Regions from separate parts of the Homo sapiens genome. Here region 2 is linked to region 1. Evidence: promoter capture Hi-C in human tissues and cell types (Jung and others, 2019). All regions are on one chromosome and are shown on one strand. The core of a region is centred on a gene start or on the middle of the fragment in contact, and the rest is flanking DNA. Distances in the headings are between cores, read along the strand shown. Region 1 holds the start of FMN1 (formin 1). Region 2 overlaps AVEN (apoptosis and caspase activation inhibitor).

What was found. Contacts are between HindIII fragments. The study calls those that stand out against the background at their distance.
Region 2: a contact is called between a fragment that was not itself captured here and the fragment with the promoter of FMN1 in region 1, in 3 of the 25 tissues and cell types used here (dorsolateral prefrontal cortex, lymphoblastoid cells and mesendoderm cells).

Annotation. Positions count from the first base shown.
Region 1 is chr15:33,192,587-33,198,895 of GRCh38, forward strand. FMN1 (formin 1) reads right to left here and starts at 2,128. Exons shown (of 21, transcript NM_001277313.2): 1 at 1,992-2,128; 2 at 1,323-1,474. It overlaps LOC105370759 (a long non-coding RNA gene), which reads left to right and starts at 2,325. Exons shown (of 3, transcript XR_932090.3): 1 at 2,325-2,989. RefSeq lists silencers at 2,107-2,446, 2,221-2,430. The HindIII fragment of the contact is 9,448 bases long and covers 1-5,276 here.
Region 2 is chr15:33,971,172-33,977,509 of GRCh38, forward strand. The region is part of intron 2 of AVEN (apoptosis and caspase activation inhibitor); the gene reads right to left. All of the region lies in intron 1 of CHRM5 (cholinergic receptor muscarinic 5), which reads left to right. Among named protein-coding and RNA genes, the nearest start is that of CHRM5, 5.8 kb to the left of the region's middle. The HindIII fragment of the contact is 3,232 bases long and covers 2,265-5,496 here.

The DNA of each region.
Region 1 (6,309 bases), core at 878-3,377:
GGCTGGTGAGAGAAATGCCTGTCCAAACACAGGTGGCTTCAATAGTGGCACCCCTCTAAGATGTAGTGCTATAAGGAACCTGAAGACTACCATACCCCATTTGCATCAGCTCTGACACCTAAAAAGGATAAAGACAATGGAAAAAAATGCATAATTTTTAGGAACGAGACTGGCCTTTATTATCCTTCTTGACTAGTATTATTAATAGCAGTTACTATAAATTCCCCACTTATGTGCCAGAAACTACTGAGTATTTTACCTATATTATCTCGTTTAATCCTCACACCTTCTCCTAAGAGACAGGTAGTATTATCCCTATTTTACAGACGAGAAATTAAAATTAAAGAGGCAAGCAACTTGCAAAAATCACTGAGCTAGTCAGTGGCTGGTCCAGGATTTGAACCTATGTCTGACAGGTTTATGAGTTTAGCCATTACAATATACTGTCTCACTACTCTTCTCCATTGTTTCCCTCCATTGAGGCCATTGCTTCTTTGTTCCTGCAATATGTCTAACTATTCATTGGTCCTGCTCCTGGACTGTAACACAGTTGAGAGAAAGGAGACTAGTGTTTAGATATCTGATCAAGAAGACCCGAGACCTCATTGATTCATTGTGGAAGCAACATCTTCCACAACGACAGTTAATCTGGTATGCAATTCTCAGCTATACTGTTTTCCCTCCCAAAAAAGGGTTAATAAGTCTGTGATCCAAGAGATTTGCAGTAAGCCCTAGAAACAGCTAAGCAACGGCTGTTGAATCCCATTGGTGTGCCTATAAGATGCTACCTGGTGTAGAGAACAGAATATAATTCTCTCTCCTAGGAATTTAGATGCGCCCCTCCGCCCCCCTGCCAATACACACGCAAGGGGGCATAGCAGATGATGGCACATGTCCCATATGCAAACATGAATAGTAAACATGCTTTAGTACAGCTGGAGCTACTGTAGCAGAAAGTCAGGTTGTCTGCTACTCCACCTGGTCTTCTTAAAGGATTGGGTCTGGACATTCACCTCTCAGTGACTGCCACTCCCCATATATATCACAGGTTCAGGCTCTGCATTCAGCCCATTCGGAGTGTGTGAGTGCTAACATGGAACTCTCCAGGAGACAGCAAGCAGAAATGTGGATGATTAAAATAAAGGGTTTTCTTTGGCAATCTCAATTGCAAATGAGGATAAGGAAAATCCTCCCAGCTCACACTCTGCTCCCAGCTACTTGTTCTTGAGTTAAATGAGGGCTTGGCTCTGGCCTCAGGGGGCAAGAGCACTGTTCGTTATTTGGTGGTGGGGGAGGGGGTTGGGGGATCCGTCAGCACTTACATGCCTTTAGAGAATCTGCCTTTACAGAACTTGAAGAGCTCTGATGGAGGAACAGAGATGCTGTGGTGGTAGTGGCCTTGGAGGTGGTGGTAGTGGCAATGGTGATGATGATGATGATGAAAGAAGAAGAAAACGGTGATGGTAAATGTCATCTATAAACACAAGCAAAAAGCAGCAACAGATACCTTTCTAGTCATTGCCAACCATAGTCATGAAGCTGCTTCTGTTCCCAATGCAATCCCATTGTGGTGCTCCCCCTCTGCGCTAAACACATCCAGCTTCAAAAAAAAAAAAAAAAAAAAAAAAAAGCTCTGCATCTCTCCGTCCCCCGCCCTCCCGCCCTCCCGCCCTCCACCTTTCCTGTGCCAAGCTGGGAATGAGACTGCACTGGCGGGTCAAGGGGGCTGGGACCTGAGAGTCAACGACAGGAGTTCTGTAGTGAGGAGCGTTGGGATGACCCGGAGGGCCCACCAACGTACTTGGGAGCAGCTTGGTGGGGGAGCTGGAGGAACCGACACAGAAGGGGAGGAAGATAAGCTGGCGGGGTAAATAGACTTGATGCCTCATTCCAAGAACCCTGAAAGCCACGGGGGAAGGCGGAGCAGGCAGCCTTTGGTCGGGAAGAAGAGACGGGCAGATGGCCAGCAGAACAGACAAGACTCTCTTTACCTGACCAATACTCGGGAGGCTGGTCCCGAGTCCCAGCTACTCGGGAGGCTGAGGCAGGAGGATTGCTTACGGCAACAGCCGTGGCGGCTGCAGCCTCGAAGGATGCTGCGCTCCAGTCCAGAGCCAAAGCCCAAAGGGGCAGCTGCGCCGACCTCCACCGAGGCTCCGCCCCACAGGCCACAGGCCCCGCCTTCCTAGCACGCGCCGGCCTGACGAGCTGTTTGGGGGAGGTGAGCAGTAAACTGATCGGCAGGGCTGAAGACCAGTGGAAACGTGCAGCGGCGCCCGAGGTGGCAGGGGAGGCGGGGCGGGAGGCGGCGGTGCCCAATCAGCAGCCGAGCCGTTGGGCCAGGCTGGGAAGCAGTGCTGTCTTTTGGCACCGTCTGATCCGGGCTGAGGGATTGAAGGCGGTGGTCGCTAAGCTAGGTCTAAGACGGACAGCCAGGGCGACAACCAGTCTCTCGCTACGTGTCCCCAGCTTCCCTGTTTCCGAGCGCCTCTCAAGGCGCACGCTCTGGACTTGTTCAGATGGGGGAAGGGAACTGGTCTGGAACTCCCCACTATTCCCGAGGTTCCCACGCCTCCAGATCCGGAGAGGCCGTTTCGCTCCAGTGGCCTGGCCCCCCTGCCCCCTCAGCCTAGCCGTTCTTGATCGTAAGTGCTAAAAGGAACAAAGAAGGAGAATTCAAGAATCCACACATAAGCCCAAACCCTGACAGGAGCCTTTTCCTCTCCCATCTCCTGCCTACGCTTCCTCCTAGTAGCTTTTTAACTGCTGGCGGTTAAGTTACTTTGACTGGTTTGAATTAAACGCAAAATAGGTTTAGGCTGAGAAATGGGCCAGACCCTTGGCGATCTGAGAAAGAAAGACTGAGTCCGGATGTCAAGAGGCCTGGGCCTCACGAGGGAGTTTGTCTGCTTATTTGAACACCTCAGAGTTGAAGATCTTGTTACTGCTATTTCTGTGCTGGTGAATCAGTACAGACCTTGATGCCAAGGTACTGTTTTGTCCCCAAGTGTCTAATCATTACTGAAATGAACTACCTTCAAACCTTTCCTAAGAGGATTTGAGGCCTTAATGTCGTTGAGATTTGGAATGTGATTTGAGTGACACTGAGATCTTTTCCAAGTAGGTAGGCAAGAAAAGGCATTGTCTTTAATCTGCTTTTGGATAAATGCGAACTGTATCACCCATTTGGTACTTGAAGATAGAATTTTGTCCTGAATAGATTCTGTTTTCAAATAAGTAAATGGGAAAAAAATTTGGAAGGTATTTTTAAGGTGATTTTTTTCACTATTTTTTTTCTAGAAATAATAGTTTATTGGAACTCTGATTTATTCTTAATCACAATATTAGCCAAACACTGATAGGCCCTTTATTTATTTGTTTTTTTAACACACGGTCTCACTCTGTCACCCAGGCTGGGGTGCAGTGGTGCGATCTTGGCTCACTGCAGCCTCAACCCCGTGGGCTAAAGCCATCCTCCCAACTCAGCCTCCAAAGTACCTGGGACTACAGGCGGGCACCACCATGTCCAGCTAATTTTTTAATTTTTTATTTGTAGGGACAGGGTTTCACCATATTGCCCAAGCTGGTCTCAAACTCCTAAGCTCAAGCGATCTTCCCTTCTCAGCCTCCCAAAATGCCGAGATTACAGTTGTGAAGTGCTGTGCCCGGCTCCATAGGCACTTCATATACATTATCTCCTTCAATCCTCATATCTTCCCCTTGTAAATTCCACTTATAGATAAGAAAACTGAGGTTCCCAAAGTTCAAGTAATTGTCCTTGGGTCATGTTCGTAGTTAGGAGTAGAGTCAATACGAGGTCCGTATATCTCCTGTCTAAAAATCATCATCATCAGTTAGAAGAATAAGAAGCCCTCAGTACGACTCTTAATTCCTTGATGCTTTTTTCTTTTTACCTGAAAATTGTCATATAGGGATCCAGTTTTCACACTACTGACTTCTTGAAACCGCAGCCTCAGAAGCACCTTTAAGAGTGAAGTGTCACCTCTGACATGTGTTAGGAGCAATTGCAAGTCAACTTTGCTCATAGAAGGGAGCTGTGATTTCCTATTGTTGGGAAGGAAGTAAAATTTTGCAGGGCTTAAGTCAAACTAGGTTTTAATTGATGTAGAAATCTTTTAAAGTCCACCCACAAAATAATATCATGGTCGTGTGAGCTGAGTCCTAGAAAGGTAAAAGGATGTTAATCCAAAGTCATATTCCAGCATTGTTTCAACAGTGTTCTGAAGAAATTCCTAAATCCTACTCTGGCCTTTAATCAAACCTGGAAATATGTACTTGCTCTAAGCTTGGTAGGGGGAGGGAGTAGGAGGTGTTTTAAAGAGAAAGGAGAAGAAAAATATTTTCCCAAAGAGGCTATTAATAAAGACAAAATATAAATAAGTTAAAGGTTATAGATCAATACAAAGGTATACACTAATTAACAAGTTAGTGGAGTTTTGTTTTGTTTTGTTTTGTTTTGTTTTGTTTTGTTTTGTTTGAGACAATTTCACTCTGTCACCCAGGCTGGAGTACACTGGTGTAATCTCGGCTCACTACAACCTCTGTCTCTCAGGTTCAAGTGATTCTCCTGCCTCAGCCTCCTGAGTAGCTGGGACTACAGGCATACACTACCATGCCTGGCTATTTTTTGTGTTTTTAATAGAGATGGGGTTTCACCATGTCGTCCAGGCTGGTCTCGAACTCCTGACCTCAAGCAATCTGCCCGCCTCGGCCTCCCAAAGTGCTGGGATTACAGGCGTGAGCCACCATGCCCAGCTTGTTAGTGGAGTATTTATGTGATCCTTGCTTAATAAACAGTTACTGGCCGAGAGGATTGCATGGACCCAGGAGTTTGAGACCAGACTGGGCAACACAGTGAGACCCTATCTCTACAAAAAATAAATGTTAAAAAATTAGCTGGGTGTGGTGGTGCATGCCTGTAGTCCCAGGTACTCGAGAGGCCGAGGCAGGAGGATCACTTAAGCCCTCGCACTGCAGCCTGGGTGACAGAGCTAGATCCTGTCTCAAAATAAAAAATAAAAAATGAAAAAATAAACAGCTACTAAGTGCCTAATATATGTTATTGTACTAGACTCTAGGGATATCCAGTTCAATAAAGCCCATTTCCTAATGGAAATGCACAGCCTAGCTGAGAACACTCAATCTGGACCATACCTGAAGAGATCACTTTATCAACAAAATTACTAATCTTCACAACCACCCAGCAGGGTAGGTGTTATCACCACCTCAAGGCTGAGGAAACTCGGACTAGAGAGGATAGTGACTCACTTGAGGTTGCAAGTTTAAGAAAAAGTCTTGACCCCAAATCATTCTGACCTGGAGGCCCACATTTTCTTTCTTTCCTTTTTTTTTTTTTTTTTTTTGACGGAGTCTCTGTTGTCCAGGCTGGAGTGCAGTGGCGCAGTCTCGGCTCACTGCAACCTCCGCCTCCTGGGTTCAAGCGATTCTCCTGCCTCAGCCTCCTGAGTAGCTGGGATTACAGGTGCCCTACCCAGCTAATTTTTTGTGTTTTTAGTAGAGATGGGATTTCACCATGTTGGCCAGGCTGGTCTCAAACTCCTGACCCAGTGATCTGCCCGCCTCAGCCTCCCAAAGTGCTGGGATTACAGGCATGAGCCACCAAGCCCGGCCAAGGCCCACATTTTCACAATATACCATACTGCCTGCCTAAGAGAAAAAGCTGTCTCTGATAATCCTTACCGAAATGCATTCCTCTGTGGAACATGTGAAGTAGATGATACAATGCCTATGAATTCGAAATTACTAAATTTGGTCAATTTGCTTATCAAAGGGAACCAAGAAAACGGAAATAATGGTCCTTGCCTACCTGGGGCTTAAGGTACTATTTACACATTCTCGTTTGAAGTCCCCAGGGGTAAATAGGATTTCATGGGATTCCCCATTCATTCCTGTGTTATTATATACATATATTTTAATATATATAATACATATATAATTAATTTTAATGTATATTAATACATATAATTTTCATTCAGTGTTCCTGGCTCATAACTCCCGTAGCCATTGTTGGTGTTTTTTTATAATGCTGTGTGTGTTAGGCCTCAGGGCCAGGCCTCAGGAAACAGAATCTCTCTCCTGCCCTCTCCTTATCTGCCCCAAGGCAGGACTCTAATCTTCTCCACCTTTCTGATTGTGGGTCTTAAGAACCTCCCCACAGAGAATCCCACCCTATACACTGGGGGAAGGAATGGTGACATCATGAAGCTTCCATAAAAACCCAAGAGGATGGGTTTTGGAGAGCTGAACCTGTGGAGGCTGACAGGAAGG
Region 2 (6,338 bases), core at 2,631-5,130, 780 kb after region 1:
ACTTTTCCCTGTTATTGATAGATTTAACAATTAAAGAGATTCTGAACAGTCTTGGGATGTAGTCAATGACCTGCCTACTTGTTTCTGCAATTTAGAATGTATTTCATTCACACATATTATATAAAAGTATTATATTGTAAAAGTAATGTGATTGTGTATCATTAGTTCCTTTCATAGAAATGGAGCAAATATTTTGGCTGCCATATCCTTATAATAATACCTATTGCTATATCCTTAAATTCTGGTCATTTTAAATTATCCAAAAGCTATAAGCTTTTTATTTAAACTATGATAAAATAAAAATGGCATCTAGGTCAAAATGAACACATCCATTTCGTGTATGTTGACATAACAATCTTAAAAAGTAATTTTTGTCTGAAATACCAAGCAACATAATTTTGTATATAAAATTAGAAACATACCTAAAATTCATTTTTCTGTGTTAGCATTCAACTTAAAGGGACATTGCATAATATTTTTAAATGCATTAAATATATATTTACTTATATCTTCATTATTATAACTTTAAGTTTTCATAAGGAATTTTTTTCATTCCATTATAATGGCACCGTGTTTCAAGCTTAATTCAACTGGGCATTTCAACTAGCCAATATATTTGTTCCTTATTATGGTTAATTTTCCTTATGAAGTGACCAAATTTGAATAAGGATGTAGTTCACCATGAAGATCATCTCCTCTCCAGCTTCTTCCTGCTGAGAGAGAACAATCTTTGGTTTGTGACATCACAATCTGTGACTGGGAAGTGGCTCTGATATCAAACAGATGATTATATGCTTTCAGTGTGAACTAGCTAAAAGAGAGATGTAAGCACTATTATTTCAAGTCATATCACCAAGACACTAAAGAGATGCATGACAGGAACTGAATTAGAGAAAGATGCTTTTATTGCATTTGTCACTTTTTCAGCATCAACTATTAAAGATAAAAGTACCATCTCACAGTTTTCTCATTAATAATTCAAAAGCGGGAGTAAACATCATGTTGGTTAAATTCACAGACCATGATAAAACGGGAGTAAGGAAAATACCAGTAAGCAAGCAGACAGTCATGAAAGAGGCCCCTAGAGAACTGAGAAATAGATGCAAAATTTCACCTTGGTTCAAGCAGAAATACTGATGCTACTCAGAAAATTGAAAAATTACCAAAACACCCAAAATGAGAAAGACGGTGTCTCTGAATGAGAAAGAGATCCCTAAATATAGATTATAAAGTGATCCCATGACATAGATTAATTAGTATCTGACACATGGACTAGTATGAGGGCAGGGAGGGGGCTGGTTAACACCTTTCTAAAACAGCATGGATTTGTTAAAAAACAAAAACAACAACAGAAAACAAAAACAAAAACAAAAACAAAAAAACAAAGGACTGTCTTGAATTAGCAAAACTTCTGTGTTCTCTGAAAGTCTTCAACAAATATTTGTAAAAAATAAATAAAAATAAATCAGGAGTTAGGGTTCAATTAAGGAAACAAAAATGAAAGCTCCTTTTACAAACACATAGGCATATACAGACCTCTTTTTGTAATCTTTGTTTGCAACAGTAGCCAAAAGACAAAGCAGACCAACTAATCCTTCCACACTGAACACATGTGCAGTCTGTCCTTTGATTAGTGGCAATACCCTGATTCAGAGTATCAGTCATTTGTGACTGACCCTCCTAGACTCAGAGCCTATACAAAGATGATGTGTAAAAAATACAGTTAACTACTCCACGCATAATTACAAGTCAAGCTGAAGTCTCATTATCTACAGTTACACAGATTGCTTGATCCAGTGGTGTGTAGAGAATTCTTAAAGCATTTATTCAGTCCTATGTACTGGTTCATTACAACCAATGGGTTATTCAGCAGTTGTTTAAAGATCTGACATTCTCCATTTTTTGTATTGAAATTATTAGTGAAATAACTCAAGAATCTGGACCAATCAGAAAACATTACCACTTTTATAGACATTGTTTGACGTCACACTGTTGTCATCATCAGACTACGTGGGCCTTCTTATTTCCTGATTATCACTATAGAAATGTAGCACTGAATAATGTGTTCTTTAAGAAGCAAAAGCCAGAGATGATTTCCAGTTCAGTTATCAACTAAAAATCCTTAGCTATTTATAGAATTTTTTGGTACAGTAACCTAGAAAGCTGTTGGTGTAAATCTATCAGGCTCAGTATATAACATAGTACAACTCTTAATATTTCATCAACTGTATACCTTCCCTTCATTTGTGTTGCAAAGACAGTCCTCTACATGCAGTAACTTCTGGGTAACTTCTGGTAATACCTACAGAAGAGCTTCTCATGCCTAGGAACTTCCCCAACACTTTGAGGATACTTCTTTCATAACACCTTGTTAGATTCCATTGAAAACCTATTTATGGCCAAGCGCAACCTGTAATCCCAGCACTCTGGGAGGCCAAAGCTGGAGGATCGCTTGAGGCCAGGAGTTCGAGACCCACCTAGGCAACACAGCAAGACTCCATCTCTATAAAAAAATCTAAAAGTTAAAAAAATAAGAAAATCTATTTATATAGTTGTCTGACATACGAAATTGCATTTTTCATGGTTGAGGGCCTTAAGAGTAAAGACCACATCTAATTTATCTGTCTATTCCCAAGGTAAGCTCAGGACTAGTTAATCAGCAGATGTGTTAAATGAATGTGAAAATGTATCTTAATGCATTCTCAGGTACAATCTCAGACAGCCAGAAGAATAGTGATCCTAAAATATACCTCAGCTGCATTTCACTGATAATAGGCAAGTAGGTAACTGCAGAAAAGTCTAATGAAGGAGTCTTTTAAAGTAGTTTATACTGAAATAATAGCTATAAGGAGATAATATCTGTTAGGGATAGTATATGATATTATGAGGTATGCAAATACAGGATAGCAAATTTATCCCTTATGCTTTTGCTCTATTTGACATATGGAAATCACGTTTGCTATACTACTAGATCTAGAATTTCATCGATAATCCAAAAGGATCTAAATTGGTCTTGCTATTAAAAAGTGACTTCAGGGGAATTTGAATAAGTACTTTGCAAATGAAATTGAAGAGATACTACAGTCATCTTTCTATTCAAAGATGAGTGGAGAAAGTGACACACTTAAAATCTTACATTTATTCTGTTGGATGCTCTACCTGCCCCCTCTCCCTCTTTCACTCTCTGTGAGGAATGAATCTTTGCAAGTTACCTATGTTATATCTCCCCAAGTCATCTCTTCTCCTTATGCCAACATACAATATACCAACAATGGTGATTTCTTTAAAAGCAGGGACAAAGGCTAAAAGACTATGCTGTGCCTCAACCCCTATGATAGAAATTAAAGTAGCAGAGTGTTGAAGTAGGCCAGCATCACTCTAGAATTCATCAACATGTGTGTTGGGGTGGGGGCAGCTATAGTCTGAAGATGCTCAGGGTACATGAATAATGCATGTGTACGTCCTCACAGAAATCTGTGATTTGATGTTGGCGTGCACAACTTAAGATTTTGAGCTTTGGGCCGGGCACAGTGGCTCACGCCTGTAATCCCAGCACTTTGGGAGGCCGAGGCAGGTGGATCACCTGAGGTCAGGGGTTTGAGACCAGCCTGGCCAACATGTTGAAACCCCGTTTCTAATAAAAATACAAAAATTAGCCGGGTGTGGTGGTGCATGCCTGTAATCCCCGCTACTTGGAGGCTGGGGCCGGAGAATCGCTTGAACCCAGGAGGTGGAGCTTGCAGTGAGCCAAGATTGCACCATTACGCTCCAGCCTGAGCAACAAGGGCGAAACTCTATCCTGAAGGAAAAAAAGAACAACAGATTTTGAGTTTTGACATCCTATCATGTTTTTAGCCATGTTCCTTCTTTCAAACACCATCTTAGATAAAATATCAAGATATAAGACATATAAGAGCAGATCTGCCCTGGTTGGGTTGAGACAGAAAGCTTAGAGCCCGCAGGTCCCCTTCTCACCCCATCTCTTCTACACTCTCTCCTCCACACGCTTCTTGGACACCTTCTAAGATATGTTTGTTGTAATTGTTCTGCCATCTAGAGGATTCACAAAGATATTCTTCTCCATTTTAATGCAAGTTTTTGATTCCATATAGACACTGCCAAATACTCTAACCTAAAACTCCTGGTATATGTCAAGCAATAGTATTTTCTAGAGCAAGAGGGCACAGGTTGCGAAACAGTGCTACTTAGCTATGCGGAATGCTACTCAATTATTCTGCTGCCTAAACATTGATCAAGCAACTAAGACCTAGGATTCAAATAAATTATAAGTTGATTTTAAAAAGGACTAAACATCTATAATTTGGGTTGGAATATTCCAGAAGTAACTAAAATTAACAAAATCTCAAAAAATTATTTGCAATCAAGAAAGCATAGAAACAAAAAGTGAGAATTTGTCATAATAGAACTCAGAATTCAGTGTGAGAAAACAACAGAATTTGTTAGAAATACCAGGTCCCAGCTGGGCACGGTGGCTCACGCCTGTAATCCCAGCACTTTGGGAGGCCGAGGCAGGTGAATCATGAGGTCAGGAGTTCAAGACCAGCCTGACCAACATGGTGAAATCCCATCTCTACTGAGAATACAAAAATTAGCCGGGCGTGGTGGCACATGCCTGTAGTCCCAGCTACTCGGGAGGCTGAGGCAGAAGAATCCCTTGAACCCGGGCAGCGGAGGTTACAGTGAGCCTAGATTGTGCCACTGCACTCCAGCCTGGGTGACAGAGTGACTATGTCTCAAAAGAAGAAAAGAAAAGAAAGAAATACCAGGTCCCTTGCATAATATTCTAGTATTATTTCACCTAACAACATTATACCAAACACTGGAGTTGTCCTGAGTTGTTTCCAGGTTTGTGAACTCTGCAATTTACTTGCTTTTGCAAGTGAGATGGGGCTCAAGTATTTAAGCTTGAACCTCCATATATAACTAAATATTACAACCAGCAGGATATATTGGATAAAATCAACTTTTAAAAGAGGAAATATGATCTTCCATCTAAAAAAGCCATGTTTCAATTATTATGACATACTATTTATATTACAATGTATTCATTTGCATTCAGTGATCATCTCCAGCACTGTCCTGTTCACTAAGGAATTCTCATAACTATTCATCCAAAATCTCAAATGATTCCTGCTTTGAAGTCAATCTCCTAAGTGAGTAATGTCGCTTTTTTCTCTAAAATACTTTAAAATATTTTCAAATATATTCTTGAGATTCAATTTTAAGTAGAGTTATTTTAAACCAACAACCAATACCCATGGACTTATTACACAGCTTTAATATAAATTTCTGCCATGCCCGCATCAGATTTTTTATGGCCTCTCCATAAATGGATCTGGGAAGAAAAACTCCAGTAGACAACACACTTTTATTCTGTAAGTGTATTAGGAACTGGTTAAAATTTATATATCTTTATTTAGGCTTTTTAAGTATCAGGAATAGGACCTTCTGCAGGCATAATGGTATATCTCCATTTAAAATATTTTAAATAAATGTAAACAGCAAGACAGAAACAAAAAAAAAATTTAACATAAATGTATTGTACCTCTCCTGTCTCAGATGACCAGCTGAAATTTTTAACATAAATTTATTGTACCTTTCCTGTCTCAGATCCCCAGCTGAACTTTTGAAACAAACATCCTAGGCATAGAAACATAAGCTACTTTATTTTTCTATGCCTTTTCTTCCCATCCCTGAGTCAGCCAGCCTCCTGTGGTATAGTGACATCCTGGATGGAAGTAAAATAATCAAAATTACAGGGTCCCTTGGGAAGGAAACCAATTCCCAGCAGTGATTCCTTATATAGAAAAGAGATAGCTAAACTCATGGTCACAATGGCATGAATTAGTTATGGCAAGGTTAATATCTTGTATAGAAAAAAATAATTTTTGGCTTAAATTGGTACCAAGGAGATAGGAAGGTTGAAAGGCTGTCTCCTCACTAACAAAATCCGCACTACCTTTTTTAGCAACAAAATGAACAAAAAACACAAAATATACATTTAAAGGGAACACAAAAAGCTGGAGTTCTTACATGAGACAGGGAAGCTTGCCTTTAGGATAACAAGAACAAGCTCCAATACTCTTACTCTAAGACACTTTTTCTCATATATTGGTAGGATAGAAAGATCATCTGATTAGCACTTCAACAAAGCAGAAGATGAGACAGATTCAAAACAAATCCTCCCCTTATCATCTCCTCCTATACTCCCTTACTTTTATTTACAAGTACATAAAATACTGCATATTATAATGAATTCCGGTTTCAAACCTTGACATTCTCTTTTGTTAGGAGGCTATGACAGCGTGCTTTGATTC